Regions from separate parts of the Homo sapiens genome. Here region 1 is linked to region 2. Evidence: promoter capture Hi-C in 16 types of primary human blood cells and fetal thymus (Javierre and others, 2016). All regions are on one chromosome and are shown on one strand. The core of a region is centred on a gene start or on the middle of the fragment in contact, and the rest is flanking DNA. Distances in the headings are between cores, read along the strand shown.

What was found. Contacts are between HindIII fragments. The CHiCAGO score rates a contact against its expected background, and 5 or more counts as called.
Region 1: a contact is called between a fragment that was not itself captured here and the fragment with the promoter of XPOT in region 2, in 1 of 17 cell types (neutrophils). The highest score is 6.2, in neutrophils.

The regions. Positions count from the first base shown.
Region 1 is chr12:68,684,355-68,691,631 of GRCh38, reverse strand. It overlaps NUP107 (nucleoporin 107), which reads right to left and starts at 4,654. Exons shown (of 28, transcript NM_020401.4): 1 at 4,559-4,654; 2 at 2,579-2,670; 3 at 2,013-2,099; 4 at 886-1,001. The coding sequence starts at 4,566. LOC100507250 (a long non-coding RNA gene) reads left to right here and starts at 4,773. Exons shown (of 3, transcript NR_038930.1): 1 at 4,773-4,895; 2 at 5,615-5,769. It also overlaps the pseudogene RPL7P42. The HindIII fragment of the contact is 1,707 bases long and covers 985-2,691 here.
Region 2 is chr12:64,399,079-64,405,790 of GRCh38, reverse strand. It overlaps XPOT (exportin for tRNA), which reads right to left and starts at 1,399. Exons shown (of 25, transcript NM_007235.6): 1 at 987-1,399. RefSeq lists enhancers at 1-677, 1,775-1,824 and silencers at 785-894, 1,225-1,384. The HindIII fragment of the contact is 10,073 bases long and covers 1-6,712 here.

The DNA of each region.
Region 1 (7,277 bases), core at 589-3,088, 4.3 Mb before region 2:
AAATTCCTGGCCTCATGTGATCCACCTGCCTCAGCCTCCCAAAATGCTGGGATTACAGATGTGAGCCACCATGCCCGGCTACTATAGTGTATTTTTAATACTTAGGTGAAGTCATTCTGCATCACAGCTTACATAACATTTCTTTTGCTATTTTTAATACTGTTCCATAGTGATTCCTAAAGAGTATCTCACCTACTTTTTCCAATTTTCTCTTTTATCCCCTTTAATACATTTTATCTCTTCCTTAAGATATTCTTCATCTGTTAACCTCTGATTCCTACTCTTGTATGCTTCAAAACAGGGATCAGATTTTATAGCCATCAGCAACCAACCACAGCATGTACTTCTTCTGGTCAGCAAACTGACAGATTAAAACATCTTATTTTCATCTAAAGGTTGCTGGTGTCACAGTTTCCATCTGTGATATCAGATGCATAAGGTTTTCAGTTTTTTTACTGTCTAATTATTTCAATCCATATAACCTAAAGTTACTGTTATGATGATTCTGACTCAATATTTGTTAAAAGACTTTTACATCAAATATCATATTTTTATAAAAAGGGAGAAGTTCTTTTTTCTCTTTTTTTTTTCTTTTGCAATCACAGGTCACTGCAACCTCTGCCTCCTGGGTTCAAGCAATTCTCACACCTCAGCCTCCCGAGCAGCTAGGATTACAGGCATAAGCCACCACTCCCAGCTAATTTTTTTATTGTTAGTAGAGACAGGGTTTTATCATGCTAAGCAGGCTAGTCTCAAACTCCTGACTTCTGGGAGGCCAAGGCGGGAGAATCACTTGAGGTCAGGAGTTCAGGGAGTGCTGAGATTACAGATGTGAGCCACCACACTCGACCCAAAAGGAGTTCTTAGCCCTATTTTTCTACATACCATGGAGAGATTTCCAAAGAACCCTGAAGACTGCGTAAGTCGGGGCGACTTCCCTCCTGTTCCAAGAATGCAGGAAATATCTGGCTGCCTTAGTAAGCTTCGGCTTGTTGGGGTAACTATAAACAAAAGGTTGGTAGAAAGAACCTAAAGTGCGTGAGCATTCATTATCAAAACAAAGTAAGCAAACAAACAATGAAGAATAAATTTTTCAGTTTTCCATTATTTAGACTCTAACCAAATAAATACTTTAAATGTTAACATTTCCATGATACAAGGATTTAACTTATTTTTCTAAATTTGAGCTGTAGGTACTACTGAGCCTAACAGGAAACATTTTACTGCAATTACAGATGCTTTCATTATAGAATAACTGAGCAGTTAAAGACACTAATCAGTCAACGGATTCTTCATATTTTAATTTTATAAGGCATACTGAGGCAGTGCAGTGTAGTGGGCATAAACTTTGGAGTAAACAGATCATTGTTTGAATCCCAGTTCCATTATTTACATACTCTTTTTTTTCTGTCTCAGAACAAAAAAAGAGTATGTAAATAATGGAACTGGGATTTTTTTTTTTTTTGCTCTGTCGCCCCAGCTGGAGTACAGTGGCACAATCTCAGCTCACTGCAACCTCTGCCTTCCGGGTTCAAGCAATTCTCCTGCCTCACCCTCCGGAGTAGCTGGGATTACAGGCATGTGCCACCACGCCAGCTAATTTTTGTATTTTTAGTAGAGATAGGGTTTTGCCATGTTGGCCAAGCTAGTCTTGAACTCCTGGCCTTAAGTGATCCACCCACCTTGGCCTCCCAAAGTGTTGAGATTATAGGCATGGGCCACTGCATCCAGCCTATTTACATACTTATTGTATATATTAGTTAACTTCTCTAAGTCTCACTTTCAGTTTTGGTAAAACAGGGCCAACAATACCCATGTCATAGTTACCGTGTGTTTATGGAAAGTACAGTACCTTGTACATGGCAAGAGTTCAAACGAATAATAACTGCAATCATTATTATTAGTGCTTATTGATATCGTAACCAAATACTATACTAATTATGTTACAATAAATGTTAGTTGCTATTATAATTACCGTTATTATTAAATGCTTTAAAAGCAAAAAATCTTACAAGGCTGTCGAAATGAGCTAGGAGTTCGAGGGATAACCTGGTTTCTTGGTGTAGTATTACCAAAATTTTCATCTTGAGATGCCTGAACTGTACAACGAGTTAAGAAAAGTTTTCCATGTAGAAAAGAGATCACTAAAATGAGAATTAACCATCTTTTTACTATACAAATTATGTGAATACATTTTTCAAGAACAAGTATTTTAGGGCTACCATTTTTCAATGCAAAGGGTAAATAATTCATTGCTTCTGCCATTTAAATGATCAGATGTCAGTCTTAGATAACTACACACTGAACTAAATGTTTTTAGTCAGTTTTCAAATAATAAAAAGAAATCTAATCTCAGCAGAAGCTGTCAGCAGTAAGAAATATCTTTATTTTTAGGGAAATACGATCTCATTAAATTTTTGCATTATATTTACCAAATGACAGCTCTGTGGAGTGAAAAAAAGTTTCTACAGGATTTTATTATAGCTACCATTTAATACTCTTATAAAAAGAAAATTCTACAACACTGATTCCAAACATGTTACAATTTTTATAATGATGCTTAAATCGCAAAGGATACGTAAAACTCTTTTCTGAGCACTCTGTTTCCGTGCAGTCCGTGTCACCTCTGCCTCCCGGATTACAGGGGATGATATCTCTCCAAAGCCACTCCTAAAGTAGTATAATCAAGCTTATATAAGTGAAACGAGAATATAGCATTTATAAAGAATTTTATCATCACAGTTGGAGTAAAGGACCCTGAGTAAGTTAAGGTATAGTCATTCTAGTAGCCAAGTCTTAGATCTTTTGTTGAGAACGCACTCCTGGCTCCAAATCCTGCTTATTCTTCAAAGCCTTACTCAAATCTTACCTGCACAAAGACTTCTCTGACTTTCTAGTACTCACTATGTTATTTTCTCCTAAGGAATTATTTCAACACTTGGAATCTATATTATAACACTGTTTTAGATAATTGCTTCATGAAAGTGAATCTTATTTCCCTTGTTGGATTGAGGAGTTACCTAACTGCAGGAATTCTCTCTTAAAAGATTTTCTGCAGTCTCCAAAATGCTTTAAACCATGGGTACTATTAAAAAACAAACAAACAACAACAACAACAAACAGAGCTTGCAACAACAACAACAAACAGAGCTTGTGAGATAGAAGGGTAAGTAAAAGAATTGTGGTAAATTGGAGCAAAATGACCCTTCAAGTTATTTCAACCCAGGAGGTCTCCTGTCCCATCACAACACTCCCTGTCAGTTTCACTCAAAGGTCTAGAAACTAAATTGTGCGGACTAAAAGGCCTGTGTTTAAGACAAGAATCTAATATGCTTTTCCTCCACTTAAAACCTTCAGATATTCCTTCAGCAGGAAAGTATGGGAAACAACCACATAGAAACAATTTTAAACGTTTAACAATTAAAATTAAAAACAAAAAAAAAAACCTTCAGATAGCTCTCTGGTCTATAGAAGTAAAAATTTCCTAAAATGATATTTACAATGTGACCCCAGTTTAGGGGTTCAGTCTTCTATTCAGCCACAAACATCACTTTAAACGTATACTGCATGTGACCACTGAGCTACACGTACTTTTTTTTCATATCCTAGCACCTCTGAATATGCTTCTTTTACAAAGACCTACATTTGCCCCCTTGAGCACCTGGTCAACAACTACTTACTCCTCAAAGAGCCTCAGGTAGGCTGGAGACACACAGATGCAGGTTGGCAATTTGGTTCTTGTATTTATTAGCTTCCGAACTTTCAGCAAGTTCCTTAACCTCTTTTAGTCTCAGTGTTATATATGAAAAAAGGATAACAGTACCCATCTCATAGGATTTTTCTTGTTCTGAAGATTAAATAAGCTAATAATATATATTCAACGCCTTTAGAACAATGGCAGTCACATAGTAGGTACTCAATGTTTGGAGTACGAATAATGTACTCTTATTATTCAAAGACCAGCTAGAAAGTTACCTTCTTTGAGGGGTCTTCCTGATAGTTACAGTGACAAGGAGACTTAATCGCCCCCAAACACTTACCACTTTACACTGCTTGGTTGTCTCCATTACACAACTAATTCCCCGAGGGGAAGGATCTTGAATAACTGATCTTTGTTGTAGGCGGCTAGCACAGTACCCAGATCATAGAGGGAACTCAGAATCTGATGCTGGCACTTGTAATCAGAAAGTCTGGGCTGAGATCCCAGTATCTTCACTGACTGGCTTTGTGATCTCAGGCTGGTCACTTAGCATTTCGAACGCCGCGCTACCTACCCCGCCCACCCCAGGAGCGAACAGTGTTGCTGCCCCAAAGCGCCGAATAGATCGCAGAACGTAGTGGGAAAGTAAGGGACTATTATGATCTGTACCCCACCCCGACGCACGCCAAGCGGCTTTTTCCCCATTTGTGGCCAAATTTCCCGGCATGGGGAAGGAGCCTTAGGGGAAGCACCCGGGACCTCCTTGGCTTCTTCTGGGAGTCTAGTTTCACCTATTTCGTTTCGCCAACAGGCGAGACGGGCAAGACTTCGGGCTCAGCTGCCACCATCAGTACTGACCTGTCCATGGCTAAAGCCTTTTCCACACACAACCAAAGTTGGCTGCAGTTTAGCTACCGCGTTTTAGCCTTCCCGCTCTCCGGAAGCAAGCCCTTCGACCCGGAAGCAGTCTGTCCCTAAAACAGACCCACAGAAAAGGGGTAGGGGAGAAGAAACAACGTTCCCATCTAGCGCATGCGCGACTTCAGCCTACAGGTGCACGCCCGGTGGGCGCAGGCGCAAAAGTTTGCCAATGTGTTCCTGGTTGCGTTTAGCCCAGACGCCCTGCGGCCGCTTTGCCTGACCAAAGTCTGTGGGCGTGGAACAGGCCCTGGGTTCTCCTACTGGGAAGAATGAAGTATGTTGATAGTCTGGAAAAATGTGAAGTCATTTCCTGGTATTCTCTGTCAGAAAGCGCCTGTTCTTGGAATTCAGATGCGTGGGCTCTGCCCCACACCTCGGGGATCTCTATCTCTCTGCCTACACTCAGTCCTTTGTTCTGTAGCCCCCTGCAGTTTTTGCAACTATTTTCCATAACTGCTATTTGTTCTTTACTTGGTGTTCTTTCCTATTAAGGAGAAAAAGTTCACCTGTATTAAAAAGTAGAAAGGCAAGCGTGAAATATGATGGTATTGCCCTCTATTTCAAAGTGCCGTCTAGGCAAAAAGTGGTGTATTTTGGTCTTGAAGGAGTCAGTCACATTTTTGTTTTGGTTTTTGTTTTTTCCAGTTTGAAAGTAGTGACTGGCTATTAACTGACCAGATTACAAAAATAATGTTAGATGCTTCAGTTTATCCGTTTAATAAGCCTGTTGATATAGTCTTTTCTGTTGCTGGCATTTATACCTTTTATTAATACAAAATAGGTAGTCCTTCATTCTCCCTCGTGGAGAAGATAATTTGAAGGATCACAGGAACTTGAGTTTTTCAACAGCATAGATCTCATGAATCAGATTCTCCAGTCAGATGATGCCATATTTATCAGGAAATCTAGCAATCAAAGCGTTATCTGTTAAGGTAATTTGTTTATTGATTTTGCCATAACCAATTTGTAGATCAGTTCATTTACTGATTTCAGGTTCAGGTACTCCATGTGATATATGGTTCCACAATCCTCAGCGTGTTAACTGAAGCCTTGTTGAGTTTAACAAAGCTGCCATTGAAGATCTGGGGAAAGTGAAGAAGTTGCAACAGAGTTTTGGGCTCACACCATTGATACATTTGATCCTTAAGGCAAGTGACAATTTGGGTTTCACAGGTATATAGAAATTGCCAGCTTTTCTTGCCATATATTTCTTGTGACAGTGCTGAGCTTTTTTTTTTTACTTCTTGCTTGCTTTTTTTTGGACTTGATTTTTTAAATTATGTTTCCTTCCTTCCTTCTTTCTTTGTTTTTTTTTTTTTTGAGACAGGATCTTGTCCTATTGTCCCGGCTTACGTGCAGTGGCACAGTCACGGCTCACTGCAGCCTTGACCTCCTGGGCTCCAGCAATCCTCCTACCTCAGCCTCCCTAGTACCTGAGGTTGCTGGGACCACAGGCACGCACCACCATGCCTGACCTCCTCTCCTCCCCCGTTTTTTAAAAATATTTTGGAGAAATGGGGTCTTATGTTGTTGCCCAGGCTGGTCTCAAACTCTTGGGCTCAAGCCATCCTCTTACCTGGGTCTCCCAAAGTGCTGGGATTACAGGGGTTAGCCACCACATCTGACAGTGCCTAGCTTTTTCATAGATGTAGCTTTCTCCTTGCTTTTCTTTTTCTTTTTTTTCGAGATGGAGTCTCATTCCATTGCCCAGGCTGGAGTGCAGTGGTGCCATCTCGGCTCACTGCAACCTCTGCCTCCTGGGTTCAAGCGATTCTCCTGCCTCAGCCTCCTGAGTAGCTGGGATTACAGGTGTCTGCCACCACACCCGGCTAATTTTTGCGTTTTTGGTAGAGATGGGGTTTCACCATGTTGTCCAGGCTGGTCTTGAACTCCTGACCTCAGGTGATTCACCTGCCTCAGCCTCCCAAAGTGCTGGGATTACAGGCGTGAGCCACTGCGCCTGGCCTTCTCCTTTCTTTTCAAAGCATTTTATGGGCAAACTTCTTTCTCAGGCACTTGACCTTTAGCTCTGTGAAATTCCTTCATGTGTTTTATTTTTATTTTTTGAGACAGAGTCTTGCCCTTTTGCCCAGGCTGGAGTGCAGTGATGCAATCTTGGCTCACTGAAACCTCTGCCTCCCCGGTTCAAGCGATTCTTGTACATCAGCCTCCCAAGTAGCTGGGATTACAGGCGTGCACCACCATGCCCAGCTAATTTTTGTATTTTTAGTAGAGGCGGGGTTTCACCATGCTGGCCAGGCTGGTCTCGAACTCCTGACCTCATGATCCACCCGCCTCGGCCTCCCAAAGTGCTGGGATTACAGGCATGAACCACAGTGCCCAGCCTTCCCTCACATTTTTAAAGGGTTTCTGGCACAGCAGGAATCTTCTTTTTCTTGTCTTCAATACCCTCCATGGTTTCAGCTGGGAAAGAGGAAATCAGTGGAAGTTTTGCCTTAGGCATTTATGTTCTGCTGTAATTCTGGGAAGCATAGTTCCCCGGAAGGCCTCTTCATACCTTATTATCCCCTCTCAGACAACATGGCATTTTGATAAAAACATTGCTTTGGGCTCCATCTAGGTTCAACCCCCCTGCACCTGCAGATTCCTCATCTGTAGAGTGGAGAAAACAATACCTTTGTCAGGGGGTGTTGTG
Region 2 (6,712 bases), core at 150-2,649:
CAAAAAGTAGCCAGGTGTGGCGGGGCGCACCTGTAATAGAGCTACTCGGGAGGCTGAGGCTGCAGAATCACTTGAACCTGGGAGGCAGAGGTTGCAGTGAGCCGAGATGGCACCACTGCACTGCAGCCTGGGCGACCGAGCGAGACTCCGTCTCAAAACAACAACAACAAAACCCCAAAAAATGTTTCAATACGGTAAACAATTATGCATCTTGCAAAGGTTCTTGGGGGAAGGCAAGCAACATACTTAAAATATTAAGCCTTAACTTTTCCTGGATAGCCATTAAGAATCAAACAATTTGGAAAAATTCCTCTACACCTACTGAAGACTGTTTCAAATACTACGACTGAATCTTTCCAGCCTTTTAACACCACGCTGACAAGTCGGTTTAATAAAACGTAACTCTCCCCCAACCCCCGCCCGCCACAACTAATTAGCACTTTCAAAAAGTACTCGTTTTTCTGGTTACAGGGAAACCTCATGCTTCTCTAGTCCTGCAGGATGGTGAGGAAGGTTTGAGAAGAAATGGAGCGTCCGTGCTGGCCAATTACTGCACAGAAATAACACTTTTCCTTTTTGTCCAGGGGTGGGGGAAGAATCAAGTTTGAGGTCTCCACAGTTGATAACGCTACAACGATGACTAACGGGCTTCGGAACCACAGGCGATGCCGACCCTCCTCTGCTAGCCTTGCTCCCATCCCTCCCCCGATCCCTCCCCTAAAGGAAGCCTCGTGGCAATTCGGGTGATGAAACACCAAGCAACCGCCGGCCACGCACTCGGGACGCGCTCCTCGGCGGCGGCCCCGGCTCGTACCCACCCCCACCCGGTCCGCCCAGCCAGGGGGTGCACCGCCATAGAGGGTCCCAAGCCTGCACCCTCCCTGGCGTCGGGACTCCCCCGGGCCGGTCCGCCCCGGCCAACTTCCTCGAAGCCTCACGCGGACCAAACCTGGTCCCGGTCCCGCTGCCCCCGAGCCCCGAGTCACCTTCCCTATCACTCCATCCCGCCTCCCAGCCTGCACTCCAGATGGTCAGCCAGCGGAGCGGAGCGGCGCGGCACGCAGAGAGCTGGGAGAGCGGCCCTCGTCCTTGTCGCCGTAGTCCTCCGCCACGGCCGCAGCTACAACGCCAGAGACGGTGCTGGCCGGGACCGCGCGCCTCTAGTCGCTCTGCGTCCCCTGGCACCTTCTCTTGCGTGGCGCCGGGCAGGCAGGCAGGCAGGCAAGCAAGCAAGCAAGCAAGCGGGCGGGGTCGGCGCCCCAGGAAGGGAAAGAGCGCGAGGGCCGGCTAACGCCGCCGCCGCCGCCGCAGCCGCCGCCGCCGCTGAGTCAGCGCGAAGCGCGCTCCCCGCGTCGGTGCCGCGCGGGCGGGCGCCGGCGCCAGCAGTCTCTTGGAGAGTGCGGGCGGCAGCCCGCGGGCTGACGCCGGAGGCCTACAACTCCCAGCATGCAGGGAGCGGCCGGCGCTTCCGGGCGGCGAGGCGCACACGCGCTCCCTGGCGCTCGCCGGAAGGCGTGGTCACCGGGGCTTGAGGTGCATGCCGGGATGAGGCATCCGGCCCAGGAGTCCCTACCCAGCTCCTAAATCCCCGGCTGTGTCTGCGTGGTGTCAGAGCTCAAGCGTCAGGTTCGCCCCGAGCATTCCACAAAGGGCTTCTAGTAGTTGAGAGTACGGATTCACGAATCAGGATGACGTGGTTCTAACCACGTGTGAGTCAATTTAATTGCTTGTCTACGGCCCCAAGTGTCCCGAGTACAGCAGTGTAAAGCTCTGATGAGTGCTGACAGGTTTTCAAAATTAATTAATTAATTTATTTATTTATTCTTTGAGACGGAGTCTCGCTCTGTCGCCCAGGATGGGGTGCAATGGCGAGATCTTGGCTCACTGCAACCTCCGCCTCCGGGGTTCAAGCAGTTCTCCTGCATCAGCCTCCTGAGTAGCTGGGATGACAGGCGCGCGCCACCATACCCAGCTAATTTTTGTATTTTTCGTAGAGACAGGGTTGCACCATGTTGGACAGGCTGATCTCGAACTCCTGACCTCAAGTGATCACCTGCCTCGGCCTCCCAAAGTACTGGGATTACAGGCGTGAGCCACGGTGTCCGGTCCAAAATTTATTTTAAACAGACTAAAATTTTGTCCATGAAAAGAAGGAGAGCATTCTTAGGAAGTCCTACTCACGGGATCTTTCGATGCTACTAAATGTCACTTCATTTATTTGGTCACAGATTTATTAATTTATTAATGCAACATAGAGGCAGTGTAGGCTTAGGCTGCCTCGACTTGACTGCCACTCCGCCTCCTCACTAGTTGACCTCAGGCACTTTACTTTAGTCTATCCATGCTTCAGTTTACTCGTATGTAAAATGGGGATTGTTAATAGTACCGACCTCAAAGGGTTTCTGTGAGGTTTGAGTTAATACATGTGTTTGACACACAATGTGCTCAATATTTACATTTCATTGTTGATTATTCAATGTGTACTAAATACAGACTAGGTTGCTGCCACAGACTACAAACAAAACTTGGAGAGGGAGGAATGGTAAGAGCATAGAATAAAACTAATGTTTTAACAGCTACCTTTATTTAGCTGTCCAAGACACTACACCAGGCATTTCCTATATAAAATACCTTGAATCACTCTTGCATCATGTTTCTAATTTATGTGTTTAAAATGTCAGGCTAGTGGCTACAAGATGTCGCTAAAGGAGAACTGGGTTTTAATTTTTTCTTGTTTTTAGAGAAAGGGTCTCGCTCTGTTACCCAGTCTGGAGTAGAGTGGTCATAGCTCACTGCAGCCTTGACCTCCTGGGCTCAAGCAATCCTCCTGCCTCAGCCGCCCAAGGAGCTGGGACTACGGGTGCATACCATCATACCTGGCTATTTTTGTTTGTTTTTGTAGAGATGGGGACTTGCTCTGTTGCCCAGGCTGATCTCTAACTCCCAGGCTCAAATGAACCTCCCACCTCAGCTTCCCAAAGTGTTGGAATTACGAGTGTGAGTCCCTGTGTCAGGCCTTAATTTTCTTCACGCTGCTCTCAGTTGGCTTCCCAACGAAATAGGTTCTTTGTTGTTCTGGCATACAAATTTTCTTTTGATTGTAATCCTTGCATGCATTATGTTTCTACTATTCAAATTATTAATTATTCAAATTAATTATAAACAAGAAGTATCTCTTGTTTTACTTCTGAGAAAACCAAAGTCATGGTATTCTCAAGACTAGAGATAATTCAACAAAGCCTGTGAATCTCCCTCATTTGGAATCTCTCTGGGCCCAATCTGTTTTCCACTGCTAGGGCGCTGCTGCTAAAGCTATATCATATGAAACCACCCTCCCTAAAAGCTCAGGGACCATCTCCAAATAGGAGGGCGAGTGAAACTGTAAGAGCTGGATTGATGGGTGGAATCTGGAAGCTAAAGTAACTCCATCTTTGGTACTAATCTGCCATGTTGGTTTCTGATTAACCCTGTTCCCGGAAGGCCTTTAAGATTTCAAGTTGTGTGAGAGCACATACTGTAAATTCTGCCCTTACGTCAAAACAGCCTTGATGTTATTGTACTTCAGTTGTCTACACATCCTGACGTGGTTTGGCTGTGTCTCCACCCAAATCTCATCTTGAATTGTAATTCCCATAATCCCCTCATGTCATGGGCGGGATCAGGTGGAGATAATTGAATCATGGGGTTGGTTTCCCCCACCCTGTTCTCGTAATAGTGAGTTTTCATGAGATCTGATGGTTTTATAAGGGGCTTCCCCCTTTGCTGGGCACTCATTCTTCTCTCCCCTGCCACCATGTGAAGAATGATGTGTTTGCTTCCCCTTCTGCCATGATTGTAAGTTTCCTGAGGCCTCCTCAGCCCTGAGGTACTGTGAGTCAATTAAATCTCTTTCCTTTATAAATTACCCAGTCCCAGGCATTCCTTTATAGCAGTGTGAGAACAGACATAATACACATCCCTTCTGAATTACATATACCCTTTCCATATGGGGGTTAATGGTGAGGGGATCCACCATCTTGTTTCACTGCTGCTGGAGACACAGGCATGGCTTTTTTCACAAGTTGCTATGAATGTTATTTCTAAGAAAAAAAATCTCAGGCTAGGATTTCTGCCCTACCTATTTCAGTATATCTTTCGAGTCTAGCACAGTGCCAGCCTGCTAGTTTCAACTCAATAACTGAATCATTGCATGAATTCTTATATTAGCTGTGATGATCAACTGTGGAGTATGAAGGCCCAATACTAATCTTGGGCTGAGTGCCTCTGCAATCTGTATGTTCAGCATATTCCAGGCCTCATCCTAAAGAATATGGCAATTCAATCTATCGTATTATAGATGTCTTTACTTGCTGTTTTGTTTGTAAATTCATTTTATGGCTACTTCTTATGTTGAATGTTATACAAAGCCTATCTTCAGTTTATCTACAGTTTATCTACTAACATTAGCTCTTTCGTTTATGGTAGTTGAAATACCTAGAATTGTAGAAATCTCTTTCAACTTTGTAAACTCATATTATTTCAGAACAAATAAAGAGGCTAGGCGCGGTGGCTCATGCCTGTAATCCCGGCACTTTGGGAGGCTGAGGCAGATGGATCACAAGGTCAAGAGATCGAGACCAGCCTGGCCAACACAGTAAAATCACGTCTCTACTAAAAATACAAAAAAAAAATTAGCCGGGCATGGTGGCACATGCCTGTAGTCCCAGTTACTTGGGAAGCTGAGGCAGGAGAATTGCATGAACCTGGGAGGTTGCAGTGAGCCGAGATTGCGCCACTGCACTCCAGCTTGGGCAACACAGTGAGACTCCATCTCAAAAAAAAAAAGCCGGGTGTGGTGATGCATGCCTGTAATCCCAGCACCTTGGGAGGCCGAGATGGGTGGTTCAGGAGGTCAGGAGTTCAAGACCAGCTTGGCCAACATAGTGAAACCCTGCCTCTACTAAAAATACAAAAATTAGCAGGACGTGGTGGCACATGCCTGTAGTCCCAGCTACTCGGGAGGCTGAGGCAGGAGAATTGCTTGAACCGGGAGGTGGAGTTGCAGTGAGCTGAGATCGCACCACTGCACTCCAGCTTGGGCAACAGAGTGAGACTTCATCTCAACAACCACAACAACAACAACAACAAAAAGAACAAATAAAGAAGCACTTGGTAGAATCCAACTGAAGAGGACCTAAGAGAGGTATTACATTTGACCATTCCATATTCTGCCTCCTCCGTCCATGAAGGGATGGGCAGTTTCTCATCTCAGATGAAAATGTTAGTCATCAACATGTTGACAAATAACACTATCATTTTGTAACTGCCCAAAAGGCTCCTTTTGTAACTGCCCAATAGGTTCCCTGCTGCCTAGACAGACCCAATTTATCAAGATAGGGGAATCTCAATAGAGAAAGAGTAATTCACATAGAGCTCCCTGTATGGGAGACTGAGTTTTATTATTATTCAAATCAGTCTCCCTGAGCATTCAGGGATCAGAGTGTTTAAGGCTGATTTGATGGATGAGGGAAGGTCAGTGAATTGAGAGTGCTGATTGGTTGGATCAGAGATGAAATCAGAGAGAGTTGAAGCTGTCCTCCTGCGCACTGAGTCAGTTCCTGGGTGGCGGCCACAAGATCAGATGACCCAGTTTTTTGATCTGAGTGGTGCCAGCTGATCTATCAAGTACAGGGTTTGCAAAATATCTCAAGCACTGATCGTAGGTTTTACAATAGTGGTGTTATCCCCAGGAACAATTCGGGGAGGATCAGAATCTTGTAGCCTCCAGCTGCATGATTTCTAAACAATAATTTCTAATCTTATGGCTAATTTGTTAGTCCTACAAAGGTAGTCTAGTCCCCAGGTAAGAAGGGTGTTTTGGGAAGAGGCTGTTATTGTCTTTGTTTTAACTATAAACTCTAAACTAAGATCCTTCCAAAGTTAGTTCAGCCTATGCCCAGGAATGAACAAGGACAGCTTGGAGTTTAGAAGCAAAATGCAGTTGGTCAGATCAGATCTCTTTCACTGTCTTGGTTATAATTTTGTAATGGTAGTTTCAATTTTAACATAAAGCATGTATGCTTGCATATGACAATGCTTTTATGTATTAATTGCCAATATTTTTGAGCATGTTTGCCAAACAGTTTTTTTTGTTTTTTGTGTTTTTGTTTTTGTTTTTGAGACAGAGTTTCACTCTTGTTGCCCAGGCTGGAGTGCAATGGCGCGATCTCGGCTCACCGCAACCTCTGCCTCCCAGGTTCAAGCGATTCTCCTGCCTCAACCTCCCGAGTAGCTAGGACTACAGGGATATGCCACCACACCCGGCTAATTTTGTATTTTTAGTAAAGATGGGGTTTCTCCGTGTTGGTCAGGCTGATCTCGAACTTCTGACCTCAAGTGATCTGCCAGCCTTGGCCTCCTAAAGTGCTGGGATTACAGGCATGAGCCACTGCGCCTGGCCATCAAACACAGTTTTAAAGTGTTTATACATCGATCCTCACAACTCTATGGAGATAGATACTATTATTATCCCCATTTTATAGACAAGGAAACTGGAGTGCATAGAAGTTAAGTAGCTGAACTGGGATTCATTTGTAGTCATTGAAATACAACTAAAAAATAAAAAAAAGAGCTGGGATTGAAACACACATAGTCTGACTCTAGAGTGTGTGCCACTAACCTATCTCTCAAATGAAGGTCCATTAGGATTGATGACAGTGTAGGACTATAGTAC